Regions from separate parts of the Homo sapiens genome. Here all the other regions are linked to region 1. The links are contacts of gene promoters, found by promoter capture Hi-C in blood cells and fetal thymus (Javierre and others, 2016). All regions are on one chromosome and are shown on one strand. The core of a region is centred on a gene start or on the middle of the fragment in contact, and the rest is flanking DNA. Distances in the headings are between cores, read along the strand shown. Region 1 holds the start of CBLN2 (cerebellin 2 precursor). Region 2 overlaps LOC105376872 (a long non-coding RNA gene). Region 3 has its middle 120 kb from the start of LINC01910.

Region 1 (3,254 bases), core at 195-2,694:
GTGTGAGAGGTATTGCTATAAATTAGCATCCCCAGATTGGTCTAATTATGTCTGTGTCTCACATGTCTTTCAAATATCTAGTGTTCTTTGCTATCTATGCTTACACTTAAATCAGTTCTCTCTATGGTGGAATGATGGATGGGGGCTTATTTTGACAGTAAGACACTATCACATGGATGAAATAGTGGAATAAAATAACTATTTGAAAGTAAGAGTGCATTTCCACTCTGTTAAACTCACAAAAATGGTAACAAAACATGGCAAACTGTGGTGGATTTGAAAAAGCATCCTGGCAAATGCCAGTACCTATCTCCAGCATGGTACAAAAGTGTTGAAGTATGACATTTACTTTACAGTGAGTATAGCTTAGGAGGATGAGAGATTTTGGAAGTATTGTATATTTTCTACTATTTTGCATGCTAGGTTAACCAGGAAGCATTTGGCTCAGAGGTACTTTTAATCACATCCTTACACCCATACTAAATATTTTGTCTCACGCAGCAGTGTGCAATGACTTTCTGCATATCCATTCCAGTTGAACTGATCGTGAATTTCATCTCCAGTGCTTAGAGATGATGCCTTGGCAGTTCTGTTCTAAATGGGGAGAATAGCGGTGAGAGGGCCTATGGGAAAATAAGGCCTTCAAAACCCCCTACCTGAAAAGACCTCCGTTTGTTAAGGTGGAATCAGACACTGCTGAAATCTTCAAAGGGGAGAGGGTTCGGTGTGAAGTCTGGAGGAATAAGAAATACAGATGCTCTAATGAACAGCACTGGCTAACTTTATTATTATTATTATTATTATTATTATTAGCCTATCAGAAAAGACGTATAATGCATGTCAAAGGACAAAGTATTTTTTAACCATGTTTTAAAAAAAAATCAGGCTATAGAGTGTAGATTTAAATATTGATTGTTTTTTAGACCAGCATAAACTATACGGCCCAGTTGTCTGTGCAAACGTTGTGCCGACGATAATAACCGATGATAACCTCACCGCAGCATTTATCATCTTGGCAGAGTTGTTTGTTAGATCAGTGAAGATCCGGAAAATCAGGCGGCGTGCTGCTTGGTTTTGCCAGGAGTAAAAGTACTGAAGGATACCGGGAAGACTGGTCATTATTGTTCTTCTTGTGGTTGCTATCATTATTATTATTATTATATTATTATTATTGCAGAGGTCAGCGCTGCTTTTGGGGTGAAAGAAGACCATCAGCAAACCTCAGCCTTGCGGCCAGGACTCCCCCGTCTTCTGTCGGAGTCCGCCGGTCCGCAGCCTGCGGCAGGGAGGCCCGGGCACCCGCAGGTGGCGCCCCACGTCCGTGTTTGCGCCCTCAGCCGAGCTCCAGGCGCAGCTGGGAAACCCAGCGCGTCTCCCCGGGTCCTTTGAGCGAGCGCGGACACCGCAATTTAATAAATAAGCGCAAGCGCCAGCCGCTCCACCAGTCCGAGGTCCAGAGGAGCAGACACACAGACCCGGGCCGGAGGCCCCTCTTCTAGCCCTGCGGGAACCGGACAGTTCCCCAACTGGGACTCTGGAACCACAGCTCCTAAATCATCAAATTCTCAAGCTTTTTTTTTCCCTCTCTTCGTCCCAGCCATCCCAGTCTTCTTCTTCTTTTTTTTTTTTTTAACTTATTGTTTTTTTCGCTCCTGTCATTATGAAAGTGGTCACGCCATTCAATATTAAGACTTGGAGGGAATTGGGGAAAGAAAAGAAAGAATCTAAAAGAAGAGAAGCGACCGGTGCTTTTAAGGGTGTCTAATTTTCAAAAGAGACGTCTGGGAGTATTTTGCTCTGGGCGTTTGGGTGAGCAGGACCGGGGCGTTGGAGGGTGCGGCGGGCTTGGGAGCAGGGAAGGTTCCGAGTCCTAGGGAGGCGGCAGCGCTCGGCTATGCCCTCTGGAGACTGGCGGGGCTGCGGGGCCGAGGGGACCCGCGAGGGAGCCGCGCTGCGGACGCGCTGAGCGCGGGAGCTCGAGGGGCCCCAGGCAGCGGTGCGGGCGCGAAGCCCAGGGGTTGGAGGCACCTGGGCGCACAGCGCGGGGCGCTGAGCCGGGCGAGACGCGGGGTTCCCGGTCCCGGGCGCGGCGCCTAAGCGGGCGCGCGGGGCGTGGTGCACCCCTGAAGCGGCGCAGGCTGGCGCGGGAAAGCGGCAGGGCGGGGCGGCGCGGTTATTGGCCACGCGCTGGGAGCAGGGTCGCGCTCCGTGTCCTCCTCCCGACAGCTCCCACTCGCCTCATTTTCTCTAAGCAGAGCAACTTCGCGGACAGCGGAGCTCGCCCAGCATGGATGTTCCAGGTAACCACCCCCGACCTGCCCTCCCCTCCGCATGCAAGCGCCTTCTGCGTGGATTTTAACGAAGACTCTCCCTGGTCCAGATCGAGGGGTGGAGGAGGTGGAGAGAGAGAAGGGAAATCATGTAGGATCGGGGCTGCGGACAGCGGATATTTATCAAGAGCCAACTTCTCTGTTCTTAGAAAGAATACTGGAAGAGTTAATGGGAGGCTGTGGGCGGCGAGGGGGCGGCTTCTCTGCGTGTCTCTGGGCTGGTATTGAAATGGCCTGTCTGCTTTCCTGGGAGGAGCGGGGACGGGGCAAAAGTGCAGACGGGCGCGTAAGTTCGCAGAAACCTGCAGGGGCTGCCGCCCCGCTGAGAAAGAGAGAATCCCCGTGGTCTGGAAACCAGAGCTGGAGAATAACCCAAGCCTGGGATTCCGTCGTTGGAATCGGTCCTTCGCCTAAGAGAGGAATCCCAGGGGTTTCACCCAAGGGGGCTCGCTAGTGGCTGCAGGGACCTTGGAAGTAGGTGTTTGGCTTTACTGCCCGTGTGTGTGTGTGTGTGTGTGTGTGTGTGTGTGTGTGTGTGTGTGTGTGGTGTCATTTCCCCCCTAGTAATCTTATTCGCCCCAAGGAGATTCCTGGGATTTGTTCTGTGGGTGGAAAACAGATAAAATCTGTACCAAAGGGACTTAAATGGACTTTAAAAACATCTCGAGGATTGAAAAATAGAGGATAGCAGGGAAACAAGGGATAGGAAAAGGGTTCCTTGGTGCTGCTCCAAGGAAATGCTGTGAGATGAAGGCGAGAAGGCAAGCATTCGTAGGTTTTTCTTTGCCTGCGTCTTAGCCCCCTCCGCGCTGGTGAATGGGCGGGGTGGCGGTGACGCCTTCTGAGGGTCTCGGGGCCCGTCTTAGCGACGAGGACCTGCAGAAGCGCGGCCCCCTCCCTCGTCGCAGCCCCGCGCGCTGCTCG
Region 2 (3,254 bases), core at 202-2,701, 2.1 Mb after region 1:
CAGTTGTAGGTGACAGGTTCAGGCTAGGCCAAATAGTAATATATTCCCAAACCACCACATATCACAAAATCATCTTTACCGGTTTTATCAACAACATGAAGAAGTGATTTTACCTCCGTGTAAATTTATGCAAACAGCTTTTCTATTAGCAATGTATTTTGGTGTTTTTAAATGCAGTTTCATAGCCCACTCCCTCACTCAAAATACTGTAAATAAAAAACACCTTATGTCTAAGATTTTATCTTCTCCGCAATTTTCACTATTTCCTTTAACAACCAGAGTCATGTTGTTGACTATGAACCTTTCTCTTTGAATAAACACTGACTATTGGTGGAATCACTTTATTTTTATATAAAAGCCCTTGTTCATTGAACATATTTCAGCCATCTTAAAAATACTAGTCCCCATGCAGGGAACCCCTGGCTTGGGCCCACAGCACAGACTCTCCATCCTGGACTGATTGCACTGAGTGATTGACGACCTGCATTTCTCTGGGGTGGAGTCCCCAGGAGACAAGCAAAAGACCCTTGGACACAACCACTACTAATGTCCCTTCCTCTGCTGCCTCCAAGTTGGGGAGGGAACATAAACCCTGAGATCACCCCAGAGCTGTGGTGGGTAGCTCAGGAGTGCCAAGCTGCAATCTACAGCCAGCACTCAAGTGAGAGAAGAGCCAAAATTTCAGAGCACTGAGAGGGAGTGTGGCTGCAACAGTAAGGAAATATAGGGAAGCCACACAACTGAGCAACAGCCTAACAACTGACCGATATGCCTAAGCACCACCTACTGAATCACACTCCAAAGCTTCAACCCCCAAAATACCTCACTAACATACCCTACTGTGAAACCAAAGACAAGCAGTCAGCTACAAATAAAGATGCTGCACAAAAAGCCTCATCCCTGTGAAAACATCCAGAAAAGAAGTCTATTGACTGTACTCAATATACACTGCAGTTAAAGGAACACCCACATGCAGAGATGAGAAAGAACCAATGCAAGAACTCAGGTAATGCAGTAGTTCTCCAACAAGAGTTCTTTTTTTCTTTCCTTTTCTTTTTTTAAGACGGAGTCTCGCTGTGTCACCAGGCTGGAGTGCAGTGGTGTGATCTTGGCTCACTACAACCTCTGCCTCCCAGGTTCAAGCCATTCACCTGCCTCAGCCTCCCAAGTAGCCGGGACTACAGGCACGCACCACTACACGCAGCTAACTTTTGTATTTTTAGTAGAGACGGGGTTTCACCCTGTTGGCCAGGATGGTCTCAATCTTTTGACCTTGTGATCTGCCCACCTCAGCCTCCCGAAGTGCTAGGATTACAGGCATGAGCCACTGCGCCCGGCCCCAACAAGAGTTCTTAACCAAGTTCAGTTGGCTGAAAAGACAGAAATATAATTCAGAATATGGATAGGAACAAAGATCCTCAAGATTCAGAATAGTAAAACCCAATCCAAGGAAACTAAATATCACAATAAAATGATACAGAAGCTGAAAAATGGCATAGCCAGATCCTAATGGATCTCACAAAACTGAAAAACACTACAAGAATTTCACAATGCAATTGCAAATATCAGTAGTGGAATAGACCATGCTGAGGAAGGAATCTAAGAAATTAAAGACTGCCTCTCTGAAATAAGACAGTCAAATGAAAATAAAGAAATTAGAATGAAAAGGAATGAACAAAACCTCTGAAAAATATGGAATTATATAAAGAAGGCAAATCTACCAACCACTGGTGTCCCTGAAAAGGAAGGGGAGAAAGCAAACAACTTGGAAAACATATTTCAGGATATCATCTATGAAAACTTCCCCAGTCTCGCTGGAGAGGCCAACAGTCAAATTCAGGAAATAGAGAACTCCTGCAAGATTCTACTCAAGAAGATCATCCTTAAAACACGTAATCATCAGACTTTCCAAGGTTGAAATGAAAGAATGGTAGAGGCAGCTAGAGAAAAAGGGCAGATTGCCTACAAAGGGAACACCATCAGGCTAGCAGTCCACCCCCCAGCTGAAACCCTACAAGCCAGAAGAAACTAGGGGCCTATAGTCAACATTCTTAAAGAAAAAAAAAATAACCAAGAATAGCCAGCCAAACTAAGCTTCCTACGTGAAGAAGAAATCCTTTTCAGATAAGCAAATTTTGAGGGAGTTTGTTACCACCAGATCTGCTTACAAAAGATCTTTAAAGGAGAACTAAATATAGAAAGGAAAGACCATTACCAGCAAATACAAGAACACACTTAAATACACAGACCAGTCACACTATAAAGCAACATAATAACCAGCTAAAAACACAAGGACAGGATCAAAACCACTCATATCAATACAAACCTTGAATGTAAATGGGCTAAATGCCCCCACTTAAAAGGCACAGAGTGGCAAGCTGAATAAAAAAGCAAGACCCAATGGTATCCTGTCTTCAAGAAACCGATCTCACACATAATGACACCCATAGGCTCAAAATAAAGAGATGGAGAAAAAATCTACCAAGCAAACGGAAATCATAAAAAGCAGATCCCATCACCAATATATATGCACCCAACATAGGAGCACCCAGATTCATAAAACAAGTTCTTAGAGACCTTTAAAGAGACATAGACTCACACATAATAATAGTGGGAAACCTCAAAACTCCATTGACAGTATCAGACAGAACATCAAGACAGAAAGTTAACAAAGGTATTTAGAGGCTGAACTCAACATTGGACCAAATGGATCTGATAGAGCTCTACAGAACTTTCCACCCAAAAACAACAGAATATACATTCTTCTCATCACCACATAGCACACTGACCACGTAATCAAATATAAAACAATCCTCAGCAAATGCAAAAGAACCAAAATCATACCAAACACATTCTCAGACCACAGCAAAATAAAAATAGAACAGGACTAAAAAAATTGCTCAAAACCATCAATTACATGGAAATTAAACAACATCCTCCTGAATGACTTTTGAATAAAAAATGAAATTAAGGGAGAAATCAAGAGTTCTTGGAAACTAATGAGAGCAAACCTATAACATATGAGAATCTCTGGGACACAGCTAAGGCAGTGTTAAGATGGAAACTCACAGTGCAAAACATCCACATCAAAAAGTTAGAAAGATCTCAAATTAACAACCTAATATCACAACTGAAACAACTAGAAAAGCAAGAGCAAACCAACTACAAAGTGAGCAGAAGACAAGAAATAACCAAAATCAGAGCTGAACTGTAGAAAATTGAGACACGAAAAACCATTCAGAAGATCAACAAAT
Region 3 (3,254 bases), core at 291-2,790, 2.0 Mb after region 1:
TTGGGAGGCTGAGGTGAGCAGATCACCTGAGGTCAGGAGTTCAAGACCAGCCTGGCCAACATGGTGAAACCCCGTCTCTACTAAAAATACAAAAATTAGCCCAGCTTGGTGGCGCACGCCTGTAATCCCAGCTATTCAGGAAGCTGAGACAGGAGAATCACTTGAACCCAGGAGGCGGAGGTTACAGTGAGCCAAGATCACACCACTGCACTCCAGCCTGGGCGACAGAGCAAAACTCCACCACCCCCCACAAAAAAAAAAAAAAAAAAGCCTATAAATGTTGATTTTTTTTCATCCCATCCCTAACTTTTATGTGCAAAACACCTGGCTGCCTATTTTTGCAATACAAGTCACCTCCGGGCCACCACCTCCAAAAAAGGAAGATGATCTTTTTAAAGAAATTGGGCACAATATTGGGAAGAAACAGAAGAGTCATTTCAAGAGACATAGCACTAAGCAAAGCCATCTGTAATTTGGTGTTTTAGAAAGTATCAAGAACTAAGCCATGGAGCATGGAATGCAGGGTTCTTTCACTGCATTGGCCCATGTTGGGGGCCTCCTGTACCCTGCATATATAAGCAGAGACTACAAGTTAAAAGTCACAGAATGGAAGTGGTTTGAATACGCTTCATTTCATTTTAGTTTTTCTGTTATTTTTCTTTACTTGCGTGTATTCCTGTGAATACATCCTTGTTAAATTAAAAAAAAAAAAAACTAATCCATGAAGTCTGGGCTCTCAGTCATAAGTTTTTAGTGCCTCATTCTTAAGTATGAATGTGCAACCAAGTGTCACCAGATATTTCAGGAAATCCTGCAACATAAGGACCAAGATTAAAAAGACAATATAAAACCCAAGATTTAAGAAAGTAAATAAATTAACCCTGGGGGTTGCGGGGGCGGGTAGGAAAAAGAAACAATAAAGGAAAAGAAAAAATTTTAAGTGATACATTCAAAGACCTCTAAGGAAATAGTCTATCCACAAATAATAATATTTGCTATCAAAATGAAAAAATTAGAGAATCAGAAAATACTCAGGAATTAAAATATGATTGCCAGTCACTTGGAAGATAAGACATTCAATGAAGAATATCTTACAGAAAAGCAGAATATAAAGAAGAGATGATAGTCATCAAATAAAATTGGATGAAATCAAGTTTGTTTTCCATCAAACTAACAGATTCCCAACAGAGACAACAGAGAAGAGAAAAAAAGAGAATAATTAGATAATTTTTAGAATACTGAGAATAAAGAAAAGATATTAAGGCTTCCAGAGAATATGGGAGAAAAATAATCTGCTAAGGAAAGAGAATCACTAACACTGGAAGGTAGATGACAATGTAGTAATATCTTCAAATTTCTCACGGGAAAATAATTCTCAATGGAAAATTCTACATAAGCCAACCACTTAATCATTTATAAGGGCTGATTGAAGACATTTTCAAATATGCATGACTCAGCATATTGATTTCCCTCTTAGGAAGTTAATGAAGGGTGTAATTCAGCAAGAGGAAGGACTAAGAAAGAAGAAATTAGGGAATGTAGTAAAGAGATGATCCAACTGAGAAGAGCTATGAAGGACAGTCCCAGGATAACAGCTGTGTAGCTATCCTAGAGAGCAATCAGTTAAAAGCAGAGAAAGATAAATAAAATAAAATAACAAAATAAAGTAAAGGATATAGAGATAAGTGTTGGGCAAGGGGATATCAACAGAATAAATGGTAGTATATTGAGTTATTTTAAAATGAGGCTATGGTAAATGTATAGGGTAAAGTAAAAAAATAAAGGCAATAGAAACTCCATGGAAGACAAAGAGTTAAAAAAAAACAAAGAAAATCATTGTGCATTACACGGTGCTCTAGAGAACAATAAGTATCCAGTCAGATCAAGAAAACTATTTCATTTCCAAGTTATTATCAAACTCTTGACAAAGAAAAGAAGACAATTATGGTTAAAGAATGGAATCAAAGATTGTGTTGACAAACAAGTAAACAAGATTTGGAAAGTAAGTAGGAAGAGTTGAAAGAATAATGTTATTAATATACTCATATCACATCATATCACACTGTAGGTAATCAAGAGATATTATCTATATATAATGAAACAAGAGATTAAAAGGTAAAATATTACTTAGAGTTCAAGAGAAATCAATCAAGGAACTAAAGCTAGTAATACAGTCATCCCTTGACACACTAAATTAGAATCTGTGGGGTGGGACCCAGCAATCTGTTTTAATACTCCCTCCAGTAGAGTCTGACGCTTACTAAAGTATAAGAACCACTGCTATAGACATAGAAAAAAACTGGGAAGAATAGACACCCAATTATTAAGAAAGCCCAGAGGAGCAGGACTTCTGTATTCTTGATTTTTAATGAGTAAGTGTTATTTTCATAATATAGAGTTTACATTGTGCAAATATGTGTAAGTATATATGTGTAGCAAAATACGGATAAAGTTTCTGGAATCATCAAAGTATGTTTTACTTCCCCAGAAAAACAGAGGAAAAGTCTTAGATATGCTCTCTGGACACTGTAACAAATCCAAGACAGAGTTGAACATATGTACAGATATAACAAACATTCCAGAACTTGGATCAAAATTCTAAACGAGTACATATACAGCAAAAGAAGCATTTCCCACAGTCTCTCTCCAGCATGATAATACTGTATGTTTCTGATGTTCCTAAGTGCTGTATCCACATAAAATACACTGGCAAGAAAACTGTTAAATAACCAAAGCAGATTCAATTTCTTCCTCACAAATCTTATTCTAATTCTGGCTAAAAGAGCCCAAATTATTTCAAATATGTTCATTATACTGCTAATCAACTTTGATTTTCACAAATCAAAATGTAAATTAACATACTTAATCACAGCCTTTTTAATCCAGTAAGTCCATTCAACTCAATATTTTTGGATCATATCCTAAAGTAAAGAAAACCTATATAGGTTAGAAGAGTTCTCAGTACTTGAGATAAAAGCTATTTGTGTATGAAATACTTAGAAAGAACATATAAGGTGTAGAATCGAAATAACTAAAGCAAAACTAAAGGAGAAAAAAGAAAGAATAGATGACGTGATTCAAGTTCAAATTAAAGAATAAAGCCGACATAAAATGACAAGAATGCAGAAAAAAGACAGAGGAAGCCTGCCTGTCACCAAAGAAACCTGATGACAGAATCATAAAATGAAATGGACCTGGAGAAAACGGTGACTTAAAAACCATCATTACATTTGATTTATATAATCCAGTTTAAC

The links. The method cuts DNA at HindIII sites, captures the fragments that hold promoters and counts their contacts. A CHiCAGO score of 5 or more calls a contact.
Region 2: a fragment that was not itself captured here is called in contact with the fragment with the promoter of CBLN2 in region 1 in 1 of 17 cell types (endothelial precursors); the score reaches 27.5 in endothelial precursors.
Region 3: a fragment that was not itself captured here is called in contact with the fragment with the promoter of CBLN2 in region 1 in 1 of 17 cell types (endothelial precursors); the score reaches 6.7 in endothelial precursors.

Annotation. Positions count from the first base shown.
Region 1 is chr18:72,542,532-72,545,785 of GRCh38, reverse strand. CBLN2 (cerebellin 2 precursor) reads left to right here and starts at 1,444. Exons shown (of 5, transcript NM_182511.4): 1 at 1,444-1,809; 2 at 2,256-2,300. The HindIII fragment of the contact is 3,863 bases long and covers 1-1,572 here.
Region 2 is chr18:70,482,876-70,486,129 of GRCh38, reverse strand. The region is part of intron 1 of LOC105376872 (a long non-coding RNA gene); the gene reads right to left. Among named protein-coding and RNA genes, the nearest start is that of LINC01910, 100 kb to the right of the region's middle. The HindIII fragment of the contact is 1,290 bases long and covers 807-2,096 here.
Region 3 is chr18:70,501,458-70,504,711 of GRCh38, reverse strand. No RefSeq gene overlaps it. Among named protein-coding and RNA genes, the nearest start is that of LINC01910, 120 kb to the right of the region's middle. The HindIII fragment of the contact is 9,214 bases long and covers 1-3,254 here.